4 separate regions of the Homo sapiens genome follow, and all the other regions are linked to region 3. Evidence: promoter capture Hi-C in 16 types of primary human blood cells and fetal thymus (Javierre and others, 2016). All regions are on one chromosome and are shown on one strand. The core of a region is centred on a gene start or on the middle of the fragment in contact, and the rest is flanking DNA. Distances in the headings are between cores, read along the strand shown. Region 1 has its middle 13 kb from the start of SPRR2F. Region 2 overlaps CCDST (cervical cancer associated DHX9 suppressive transcript). Region 3 holds the start of LCE3A (late cornified envelope 3A). Region 4 overlaps SPRR1B (small proline rich protein 1B).

Region 1 (3,113 bases), core at 195-2,694, 500 kb before region 3:
GGGTTTAAAAAAGTGCTGGATTCAAAATCAGGAACCAAAACAACTCTGTTCCTGCATGTTAGAGCAAACACTTAGAAAATAAAATTGTATAATATGAATCAATGTGTAAAAATATGTGAAGGACATAGAAATAAATCTAACAAAATTTGTGCAACATTTTCTTGTGTAGAAATAGAGTGACAACCATGTGTGTGAATTCATGACTCAAAATTGTGGAAGCATCAACTTTCTCCCACGTTGATGTCTGGATTTAAACCAAATCCTAATTAAAAACCCAACTAAATAAACTGATTTAAAAATATGTGTGAAAATGGGAAAAGGTCAAGATTGAGTCAAAATGTTTCCTTATAGTTAATATATTTTATTCTGTGCTTGATTTCTAGCTGACACAGGTCTACCCTTAGATCAGCTTCCCCTGGATGGTCAGGTGATTTGCCCATTCCAAAAGCATTTTCATACTATTCTAAATCAACTCCATTAAGTGTCTCGTTAAGTGTTGGAAACTATAAGAAAATAAAAAAGCTGAGAAATACAAGTTATAATAGGTGCCTGAGGGGAAATTAGTTGGAACCTATTGTTTTGGAATAGTTGCAACCGCAGTGTTAGGTGTTGGGAGAAAGCCCATGACAAAAGAAGGATTGATCAGGAGTTATTAGCTGAAAGCAGGAAGATCACATTCTCCAGAACGGAAGCAGAGAGCAGAGGTCCCTAGCAGCCATCTCAGGAAATACTTGTTATAACCTGTGCTGTTGTGGTCTGTCTCTCTCACTAGCCTGCAAGTATGTGAAAAGGCAGGGATATAGTCATGATCTTTGTTGTAGAGCACATGTGGCTTATCAATTTGTCAATGAAGGAATGCTTGGGATTTTGGTTTACATTTTATTTTTCTATACAAGAATGAAAAATAGTTAAATCTTGAAAAAAAAAGAACTCTAGTCTTCATTCTGAGGGCAGCAAAGTAGAAGAGTGCTGAAAAGCCAGAATCCCATTCTGTAATGAATCCTAATGAGAGATGCTCTCAAGGTTTAGGCAAGAAATGAGCATTTAAAGAAAAGGGATCATAGACTATAGAGAAGGCTCTGTGAGAGGAAGAAAATGTGTAGAGTCATTGAGACTGGAGCAGGGTCAGTGAAAACTCCTGTGTCATCCTCACCTACACCTCATCTCCATTGCTCAGAAAAAGATCCTGGGCAAGACTGGCCAAGGAGACCCTGCTTCTCAATGATTGACCTGGGGCCAGAACTAAGGTCTCTTGAGGACCTGCCTGATATTTTCTCTGTTCTATCTGCTGCTCTATTTTATGGAGAAAATAAAAATTACACAGATGACACTTAATCCCTTCAAATTGTGTGCTAACTGGGAACAATGTTAACAAATATGAACATCAATAACATTTTGAAGCAATGATAATTCATAGTGAACTTCTTAAATGAAAGGTAGTTAATAATAATGCAAAGTTAATCACAACCTAATGAAGAACATCTCACCATTATTAATAACCAAAATATATTTAACCAAAATAACCAAAATATATTCAAAAAATAGTTAATAAAAGTACATAAATATAATTGCTCATTGGCATACTAAATGATGAGGTTAATGGATAGAACTTTTTGAAGATAGCATGAGAAAAGATGGGAAGTAATAAGCCAAACTCTATTTGCCCTTTAATGTTTGGAGCAATCAAGATAAGTCAGCTTGTGGAAGACCTGTAAGACTTAATACTGTACCATACTTCAGCAGATACGAACAGAAAACCTCCATCTTACCAGCCAAAGACCAAGCCCCTTGCAGACCTAATTAGATGGAGAATTTCTTGAGATTCTGGAAGATTCTTGGTGGTATAAGACAGTGCAGTTTTTATCAAAGCTCCAAGGGTCCTGGTTATGACTGTAAGGCAGGGTGCTCTTATGTTTACTAATGTGAAGAAGGCTAAGGGAAGGCATTTCATCCCCAGCTAAAACCATTTGTGACCTTTAAAGAAGCCAAATCTATGTAGGTTACAAATGGGAGCAGTTTTATCAGCAGCCTGTCTACCTGACTGCTGATAAAACTGCTCCCATTTGTAACCTACATAGATTTGGTCTAAAATCTGCCATTCTGTATCTTTTAAGTGGAGCATTTAGGCCATTTACATTCTATGTTAGTATCGAGATGTGAGATACTATTCTATTCATCATGCTATTTGTTGCCTGAATACCTTTTTTTTCTTCATTGTGTTGTTTTATATGTCCTGTGAGATTTGTGCTTTAAGGAGATTAGATTCTATTTTGGTATATTTTGAGGATTTGTTTCAAGATTGAGAGCTCCTTTTAGCAGTTCTTGTAGTGCTGGCTTGGTAGTGGTGAATTTTCTCAGCATTTGTCTGCAAAAGACTTCACTTATGAAGATTAGTTTTGCTGGATACAAAATTCTTGGCTGATAATTATTTTGTTTAAGGAGGCTAAAGATAGAACCCCAATCCCTTCTAGCTTGTAGTGTTTCTACTGAGAAATCTGCTGTTAACCTGATAGGTTTTCCTTTGTAGGTTACCCGATGCTCTTGCCTCACAGCTCTTAAGATTCTTTCTTGTTTTGACTTTAGATAACCTGATGGCTATGTGTCTAGGTGATGATCTTTTGGCAATCAACTTCTCAGGTGTTCTTTGAGCTTCTTGTATTTGCATGTCTAGATCTCTAGTAAGGCCAGGGGGGTTTTCCTGGATTATTCCCTCAAATATGTTTTCCAAATTTTTAGATTCCTCTTTTTCCTTGGGAGCACAAATTATTCTTAGGTTTGGTAATTTAACATAATCCCAAACTTCTTGAAGGCTGTGCTCATTTTTTAAAATTCTTTTTTCTTTCTGTTTGTTGGATTGGGTTAATTCAAAAGCCCTGTCTTTGAGCTCTGAAGTTCTTGCTTCTACTTGTTCAATTCTATTGCTGGGAATTTCCATTGTATTTTACATTTCTCTTAATGTGTCCTTCATTTCCAGAAGTTGTGATTGTTTTTTAATTATGCTATATGTTTCTCTGGAGATTTTTTAATCCATATCCTGTAACGCTTTACAAATTTCTTTAAGTTGGTATTCACCTGTCTCTGGTGCCTCCTTGAGTAGCTTAATAATCAAGCTT
Region 2 (2,931 bases), core at 265-2,764, 390 kb after region 3:
CATACACAATACTGTTGATTCAGACTAACATTCTGCATGTGTTAAATATTCTTGCCCAGTGTAATTGTCACTTTAAGAGTTGAGTCTTTTAAGAGTTAAGAGTCCTAATTTAAAGTCAGAAACCTGAGTTCAAATTCTACTTCTGCCACTTAGTATTGATGTGATTTTGCAAGTTAATTAACATCGTCAAACCTCAATTTCACTGTCTGTAAGACAGAAATACTAATATTTCACCTAAGGATTTGAACAGTTAATGTCTAAATATCTATAAATCACATTGACATGTACACAGAAGATACTAATTTAAAAAAAAAGCTCTGTGGCAAGTAACAATGAAAGCAAGCAAAAACAAGTTTTTACTATTTTTTATAACAATGCTACACTCTAAAAATATATCGACAAGCAATGTGACCATTACCTTAATAAGTGAGACACCAACAGGAGAGGAACTAACTCAAAAACCAAGACGAGAAGAAAAACATAAAAAACAGGAATTTATTGTGACAAGTTCTTTCTGAGGACAAAGTTATCTGGCTCTAACCTTTTCTTTAAAAATGTAATCCTACCTTAATTCTTCTACTTAATATTGATCTTCTTTTAAAGGACAGTGCATACTTGCCCTCCTCAGTTAGCATATGTAAGTGGTGTAAGTTTAAATTTTAATATTAAAGAAAAATTTTGTTGTTGGGTTTCAACTAGAGCATTAAATATGAAAGTTCAAGTTTTGAAGTTTCTGCCAAATTTTATATTTTACATAACTTGTACAGAAATGTATTAAGTCTTATAGTATCATCAGATCACTGTGACTGACTGCAATATGCTTGAGTTTATAGACAGAGCTTCTAACGCTCTAGTTTTGACATTCCAATTGCATAAATATTGCCAACAAAAATTTATGAATTAACAATGTGTCTTGTCTCTATTCTGCTCCATTACCCTACTTTATAAATGGTAAGACTGGAAACTGATCCAAACAGGCAAAGAGCTAAGGATGGAGCTTTGGAGAGTAAAAACATTTAAGCACAGACCATGGAAGAAAAGCCCTTCAAAAAGCCTGAAAGAAGCTGTGAAAATCAACCTATAAAGTGTTGAAGAGTAAGTGAAAGTTACGGGAGTCAGAGACAAGGAGTGCTGACTGCTCTTTTAAGGAGTTCAGTTATTAAGAGATGGAAATGGATGATAGAAATAAATTAGATGATAATTCATCATTATTTCCCCTCATCTCATACCTTCTCTTTCTCATTTATTGCTTTGCTTTTTATTTATTTATTTACTTTGAGATGGGGTCTTGCTCTATTGCCCAGGCCGGAGTGCAGTGGCAAAATCTCAGCTCACTGCAGCCTCCACCTCCCAGGTTCAAGCAATTCTCCCACCTCAGCCGCCTGAGTAGCTGGGATTACAGGAGCATGCCACCACGCCCTGCTAACCTGGCCAACATGGTGAAACCCCATCTCTACTAAAAATGCAAAAAATGTATTGCTGTTCTTCGTGAATGTTACCACCATACATACTGCCATCCAAGTCAGAAGCCTTGATTACTTCCGTTCCTTCATCTGTCTTCTGACTCATCTTCCTTATTCTATCTTACCTCTCAGTCTAGTATCAACATAGCAGTGAGTCAGATCATGCCACTCCTCTGCTCAAAACCTTACCTAGTAAATAAGCCAACCATATGGTATGTTAGAAGTATATATCAAATAGAAGGGTCAGGGTAGGCTTTATTGAGAAGGTGGTATTTGAGCAGAGACTTGAAGGAGATAAGTGATATAGCCAAATGGACATTTAGGGGAAGAGCATTTCTGGCAAAAATTCTTTTAAAAAGAAGGATGCCTGGAGGTTTTGGAGAATAGCAAGGAAGCTAATATGGCTTCAGCAGGGTACCACAAGGGAGAGAGTGGTGAAAGATGAGGCCAGAAAGGAAACAGAGGTCTGATCAGTTTGCTACTCATTACATTCATACTACAATGCCTCACTCTCCCTTCTCTATCTGCTATCCCACCACTATCCCCTGCCACACACACATGCACGCACGCACGCACGCATGCACATCGAAAGGCAAATGTTCTGGATTTGATTTCCAACAATCAAGGTCCTTATATCTCAGCTTTTTTTTTTTTTTTTTTGGTACCATTTCTAACACTTGAAGTGTTTGTGAGAATCGCTTCCAGTCACTCTTCTCCATTTGTCCACTTTAATGGACCAGGTCTGCATGCTGAATGTTTCAGGTAGTAGGAACTAAGGGATAGAGACTATGAATACCAAGCCAGTAAGAGCATCAAACATCAAGATAAGAACACACAGCCTAAGTAACACAGTGAGACCTCATCTCTACAAAAAAATATAAAAATTAGACAGATGCAGTGGCATACACCTATAATCTCAGCTACTCGGGAAGCTAAAGTGGGAGGATCACTTGGGCCCTGGAGTTGGAAGCTGCAGTGAGCCATGGTTGCACCACTGCACTTTAGCCTGGGCAACAGTGAGACCCAAAAAAAAAAACTATATATATATTTTTTTCTCATATATATATATATATATATATATATATATATATATATATTAGAGAAAGATACTGATGGAATAAATAAAAGGATACATGTATGAATGAGCTCTGGATTCCCAGCATTTGAAGCATTTTGGAGTTCTCGGAAGAGAAAATGGAGGATATTAAGGGAGAAAGAAACAACTCAATAGGCAGACCAGTACTGAAGCAGAATATATTCCAGGGTGTGGGTCTGAAGCTGAAAGATATGTCACCATGCCTGTCTCATCCCCAGGGAATATATACTAAGCTGTAAAATTATATCGAATCCATTTTTTATTTTTTGAGATAACAGTAAAAAGGACTCAAAAGAGGATATAGAAGGAAGCACTATTTAACCAGTTTCATATTATAGCTAACTTCTTTTGATTCCATTTACCCAAAATCAT
Region 3 (2,911 bases), core at 284-2,783:
CATTATCAACAAATTCAAAGAAATTTTAATGAATTACTAACATAATATATAGGATTAAATTCAGCCTTGCACATTTCACAGACAGCCAAAAACGGATGCCCCTTTTTTCCCATTAAGTGTGATTTCTGTTGATCCCACAGATGGAGGTCACATTTTTATACCATCTGCACCTCCCTCCACTCTACCCCTCTGCCCCCACAGTGCCCAATGCCACCTTTAAGATGCCATGATATTCCCTGAAGACACTACCTCTCAAGCCATGGCCCCAGCTCCATTCTTCCACCCCTTACTCAACCCAGGTCCAGTGAGCTCAGTGCAGCCAACATCTCAGGACACAGGGGCTGATTCCATCACCTATGTAAAGGAATCCACAAAGCAATGGGGACTGACACCCAAAGGCAGTGACCCCAGCCTGCCATGTTTGTGCACACTTGTGCTGCGTCGCTTAGCACATAGGATGTGATTTAATTGCTCAGTTGTCCATCTGGCCTTCTGAAAAGCTGTGAGCTAGTCAAGGGGAGAAATGTGTTCTGTTTGTCCCCATATTACCAGGCCCCACAAAGGACGTACCCTGGCTTCAGAGCATGTGAGCTGAATGAAGAAAAAAAAGTGGAACAGCAGCCAGAGGGCCTGAACGGTGGATAATTGGACCGTCATCGAGATTTCCTGCTTCCCTTTTGTCATTCCTCAAAATATGCGCCTTAAGAATATGCTGAAAGCCTGGTCCTTGGGAGTGTGTGGTGCTTCCCCTCCCTTTGGGGAGCAAAGGAGGACACATAGTTGGGCTGTGCATCATAATACCCAGGATAAAAGGGCTGAGGCCCTGGGTTCCTCAGTCCACAATCACCTCAGGAAGAACCTTCTCCTGCCTCCACCAAACCAGGTGAGCGTCCAGCTGGCGAGAGGACCTGGGCTGAAAGGGCTGCGCAAACACGTCTGTGCTTCAACAAGGAGAGGGGAGGAGGCAGACACGGTGGAGGCGGCAGAGAGGCTGTGGTGGGTGGCCGGCTGGGACTGGGATGGGAGATGGGCGGGATAGTGAGGAAGACAGACAAGTCTGCGAGCCACTTCAGGGGCTCCGCGATGCTGCGACCTCTGAACCCCCTTTTCCTCATGTGCGCAGAGATGCGTTGCCTCCTCACACCCTGCGCTCACAGGCGTCCAGAGAGACGCCACCCTGGAGGGTCATGGGCGTTGTGTTCACGGGACGCCTGCAGGGGGAGCTGTTCGCATCGGGTCCGGAGGTGTGACAGGCCCCGCAGGGCGTGCGCAGGAGCCCCAGAGGCCCACCCAGGAGTGTCAGCTGCCTCCCAGGCAGGGGAGAGGGCCGGAGGAAGGGGCAGTATCAGGCCGGTTTAACTTCAGATCCGTTTGCATTCCCCTTCCCCAGGTCTTAGCTGGAGGGCAGACTGAGTTTAGGGGAAGGGATCCACAATTAAACCAAAGCATGAGGAGGCCCTGGCCTGAAACCTGCATTGACACGTATTTTGCTTTGCTTTTATTTTGCCCAGGCTCCCTGACCTCCTGCCTAGATGTCCTGCCAGCAGAACCAGCAGCAGTGCCAGCCTCCGCCCAAGTGCCCTGCAAAGAGCCCAGCACAGTGTCTGCCTCCAGCTTCCTCCAGCTGTGCCCCAAGCTCTGGGGGCTGTGGGCCCAGCTCCGAGCGCAGCTGCTGCCTGAGTCACCACAGATGCCGCAGGTCTCACCGTTGCCGTTGCCAGAGCTCCAACTCCTGTGACAGGGGAAGTGGTCAGCAAGGCGGGAGCTCCAGCTGTGGCCACAGTTCTGCGGGCTGCTGCTGACCTGAGCCACGAGATTAAGTAAAAATATTTGAGAAAAGAAAGTGCCAAAATGACTGGAACCAGCCCTAGCCTGGTGCTTCTTTGCTCCTGTCTCCTCTTTCCTACTGAGATGTTCCTTGATGAGTTTCAAGTACTCCCCCAGGGGATTTATCCTGCTGGTCTTAGTGTTTTCCCTCCTTCTTTAATATCCCTGTGCTGTGAAGAATAAAGCTGTGCTTTCTCGTTGCAAGCTCTGTCCAGTGCGTTCCCGTCTTTGCCTTACAGGGGCTGCCCCACATTGGGTACATAGGCCTATCTTAGGAACAGACACAAGTGGGTCATACACCCCTCAACTCACAAAACCCTTTTAGGGGGGTTGTATATTAGTGTGGGAATGAGGTGAGCAGTCTTTCACAAGGTCAAGGACAGAAGCATGAGTTGGAAATAAACACAGAGCTCTGGAAAACAAAGGGAATGAGCTTACTGGGCCCGTTCAGATCCTTCCGAAAACACTTTGGTAGCTCAGCCCTAGATGGCAGAGAAGAAGAGAAGCTCCAGATGGGAGCAGGTCCTTGGTCCTCTGGTTCCTCCAACTCTGATACTCTGTAGTCTTCATGACCCAGGACCACAGCAGCCCCCAGAGCTGTGGCAGCAACTGGAGCCTCCAGAATGCTCTGTTGGGCATGTCAGTGGGATCTGTGGGCCCATGGTGACTCCGGTAGCAGCTTCCTGCAGAGCTGGAACCACAACAGAAATAGACTGGCAGCAAACAACCAAAAGGATACTTGAGGGTTAGGCACTTGGGAGGGGGCTGACAGTGCTGTTAGTTTTTCCTTTCAGGACATCTCAGCTCAGTGATCCCTGGAAGAAATGAAAAAGTAAATCATTGTTTTCTATCTATCTATCTATCTATCTATCTATCTATCTATCTATCTATCTATCTATCTCTATCTACCTATCTGTCTCCCCTTGTCCCTCACCGTCTTTCTCAGACCCTGACCCTATGACCCTAAGCTCACGTTTTTGCTAACCTAAGGGCAGCAGGGAAACAGGGCCTTGGGCAGGGATGAATTGGCTCAGAATGTTTGCTGATCAAGGTATTTTCTCCTCCTACTTTGATTTAGAATCAG
Region 4 (2,901 bases), core at 16-2,515, 410 kb before region 3:
ACCACTTCTGGTATATTGGAGTGGGAAGAGTGTGGCTTCACAATGCCTGCCCAGTTGGATTTCAGAGTACTAAGGCCTAGTGGCTGCCATGTGTCACCATTATCTTCCTTTGAACATGGTAGTTTTGATTTAGCTCTCCTGTACCTGCATTGCCATTGGATGCTGGGTAACAGGAAGAAATGGCCCATTTGTTTGTTTCATAATTTGCTGAACAAAAGGAGCCATAGGAAAATGTAATGGAGAGAATTTCATGTCATCTAGAGATCCTAGATTTTGAGCTGATGGGGACCATAAGGCTTTTTTTCCTTACGGGATTGTGTTCTGCTTATGAGACAAAGGAGCAGATGGATATTTGAGAACAAGAAGGCTATTCTGTGGCTGAAGCTTGAGGAGCTCACCCAAATCTCTGTCTTCCTCTTATTTCTAAGCACAGCAGTAAACGACATTTCTTAACTTTGTGAGGTTGACAGGGCTATGTGACCAAGTTCTAGCCAAGTCCATAAGAACTGAGGGGATACATGCCATTTCTTGTTCCAAGTGGATAAGTGCAGGGACACCTTCTCTATATTCAGTCTATTTCCCTGTTCTTGTGCTTGGATTCATAAAGCACAGCACTCAGAGATAGTGAGACCATAGGAAGGAAGGACTGTGTGTCTTCATGACTATGTGGAACAAAGACTTTACAAACCCATATTGGACTTTTATATGAGTGGAAAGTAACTTTTACTTGATGGAGCCCCAACAATATAGGGGGTGTTGTTATAGCAGCTGACCTATGCTGACTAATAATCGCATGATTACAACACTTTTTTTTCTGCTTGGTTAATTGGTTAGGTGCTAGAGGCACTTATATTTGGATATGATGGTAGATTTTACCTACTAATTAAACAAAAAAACCCTTAGGGCAATACAACATTTAGGGCAAATATTTTTCATATAGGCTTTGTAATTTTAAATAATGCAATCAAGTAAAAATGCCGTGATCAAAAATATCACAATTTCTTGAGTTATACCAATGGCATGTAATTTTTTTATTATTTCATTTTGCATCCTAAGAAAAAGAATCTCTTTTATGCTACTGCAGAACAACTTGCTTTGTCTCCCAGTTACATACAAGAGCAACCTATTTTTCCATCAATATAAAAATATATGCATATATATATGAATACACTGTTGATAACTCTATCTTGTTTAATTTGACTTGAAACATGTTGATACTACAGGGAGAGGGGTGAGGGTGGGTTTTACAGTTCTCACTTCCATGGTTCCCACCTATGTGAAAGAAACAGTCTCCAAACTGGATCAGCTTTTGTGCATTACTCTGTGAGGACTCCAGATCTTGTGTGTGTGGTTGTATATGTGTGTATGTGTGTTTGAATGAGGGGTGGGGTAGGGAGTGAAGTATATCCCTCCAGGGCACTGTAAATGCCCCTGGCAAGCACCTTAAATCCCCTTTGTTCTGTTTCAGGTCCAGAGTTGGCACTCAGAAACTAGAAATGACTAACTGAGATAAAGAACGGAGTCTGTGCATCTTTGGAGGTGTTTGGAAATCTAGGTTGTAGATATCAGAGAAATGAGTGAGAAGGAGCAGGTTAGCATATGTAGGAACAACATTACTTGAAATAAACAGGAATTGGCTGGTAAGTTAGCAGTCTAAAAGCCAGATTTGGAGAGAAGGCAATCAGGATTAGTGAGTCAGAGTCAGCTTAGACAAGTGCTAACTAAACTCTAGCATGACTCACTGAGTTGCAAGAGGAGAGCCCTTTTCCAGCCCTGGATGCCCAAAGCAACAGCCTCTAGGTGGCATTACACAACCTCCCATAGGCAGCCCAGGAATGCTTGTGGGGGCAGCCCTTCACCCTCCTAATGTGAGCATCAGATGCCTTCTGGACAAAGCCCTTCTTCACCAACTCATCTCTGTGTACAGCTCCCGCTTCACGAGGGAAAGGAATGAAGTTGTAGAGTCAATGACACACAGTCAAGAGTGGAATTGAAAGTGAATTTAATGGGGGTATAAGGGAGCTGAATCATTTGCTTTCATCTTAAGTCTCTCTTCAGATGAATTCTGAGCAGCTGAAAACTAGCTCTGGTACTAAGACCTTCAGCTTCATTCAGAGACTCAGAGTGTGTAGGAAAGAAAGCTTCATAGCACATTCTTTTTTGGGGGAGACAGAATGCTAATTGCAAGGCAAATGGGACTCATACGCAGAATGGGATAGGGGATTCAGCATCTGGTGGCCGGCTCCTCAAGGGCATGGCTGTGGACCACATTACTTCTGCTTGGTCTTCTGCTGGGCTGGTGCTGGAGTGACTATTGAAGGGCAGGGCTCAGGCACCTTGGGGTGGCATGGCTCTGGAACCTTGGGCTGGCAGGGCTCGGGCACTTTGGGGTGGCAGGGCTCAGGCACCTTGGGGTGGCAGGGCTCCTTGGTTTTGGGGATGCATGGTTCCTGAGGTGGAGGCTGGCAAGGCTGTTTCACCTGCTGCTGCTGAAGCTGAGGGGGTGGGGTGCAAGGCTGCTTCTGCTGCTGGGAACTCATGCTGCAACAGTGACTGGTCCTGGACACAGAACAGATGATTTAAGCAGAGAATAATAGGGAAGAAGCCATGGTGAATACCACTTCTGGTCTCTTAAAAAGCTATGTTCTTTCCCCTTCTTGACCACAAAGAATACTTAATTTAATTTCTGAGCCTTTGAAGAAGAGGAACCTAAAGATGATTTGCTCTTGCTCCACTGGAGCAGGGCCTCTCCTGGTGCTCTCTTTCTTCCTACACAGCACAATAACAGGCTTCTAGCAGGAATATGAGACTCATAATACTGGACCATTGGAAATGTGAGGTTCTTTGGAAAAAAAAAACCCTAACAAATTAAATCTACTCACTCATTTCTGATAAATAGCA

What was found. The method cuts DNA at HindIII sites, captures the fragments that hold promoters and counts their contacts. A CHiCAGO score of 5 or more calls a contact.
Region 1: a contact is called between a fragment that was not itself captured here and the fragment with the promoter of LCE3A in region 3, in 3 of 17 cell types (M2 macrophages, M0 macrophages and M1 macrophages). The highest score is 7.8, in M2 macrophages.
Region 2: a fragment that was not itself captured here is called in contact with the fragment with the promoter of LCE3A in region 3 in 1 of 17 cell types (M2 macrophages); the score reaches 5.9 in M2 macrophages.
Region 4: a contact is called between a fragment that was not itself captured here and the fragment with the promoter of LCE3A in region 3, in 1 of 17 cell types (M0 macrophages). The highest score is 5.2, in M0 macrophages.

Annotation. Positions count from the first base shown.
Region 1 is chr1:153,125,120-153,128,232 of GRCh38, reverse strand. No RefSeq gene overlaps it. Among named protein-coding and RNA genes, the nearest start is that of SPRR2F, 13 kb to the right of the region's middle. The HindIII fragment of the contact is 3,336 bases long and covers 1-3,112 here.
Region 2 is chr1:152,227,695-152,230,625 of GRCh38, reverse strand. The region is part of intron 1 of CCDST (cervical cancer associated DHX9 suppressive transcript); the gene reads right to left. Among named protein-coding and RNA genes, the nearest start is that of HRNR, 5.0 kb to the right of the region's middle. The HindIII fragment of the contact is 4,144 bases long and covers 1-2,931 here.
Region 3 is chr1:152,621,725-152,624,635 of GRCh38, reverse strand. It overlaps LCE3A (late cornified envelope 3A), which reads left to right and starts at 1,533. Exons shown (of 1, transcript NM_178431.1): 1 at 1,533-1,802. The coding sequence starts at 1,533. The coding sequence ends at 1,802. The HindIII fragment of the contact is 6,916 bases long and covers 1-2,911 here.
Region 4 is chr1:153,031,985-153,034,885 of GRCh38, reverse strand. SPRR1B (small proline rich protein 1B) reads right to left here. Exons shown (of 2, transcript NM_003125.3): 2 at 1,986-2,559. The coding sequence starts at 2,540. The coding sequence ends at 2,271. Among named protein-coding and RNA genes, the nearest start is that of SPRR1B, 2.2 kb to the right of the region's middle. The HindIII fragment of the contact is 1,757 bases long and covers 387-2,143 here.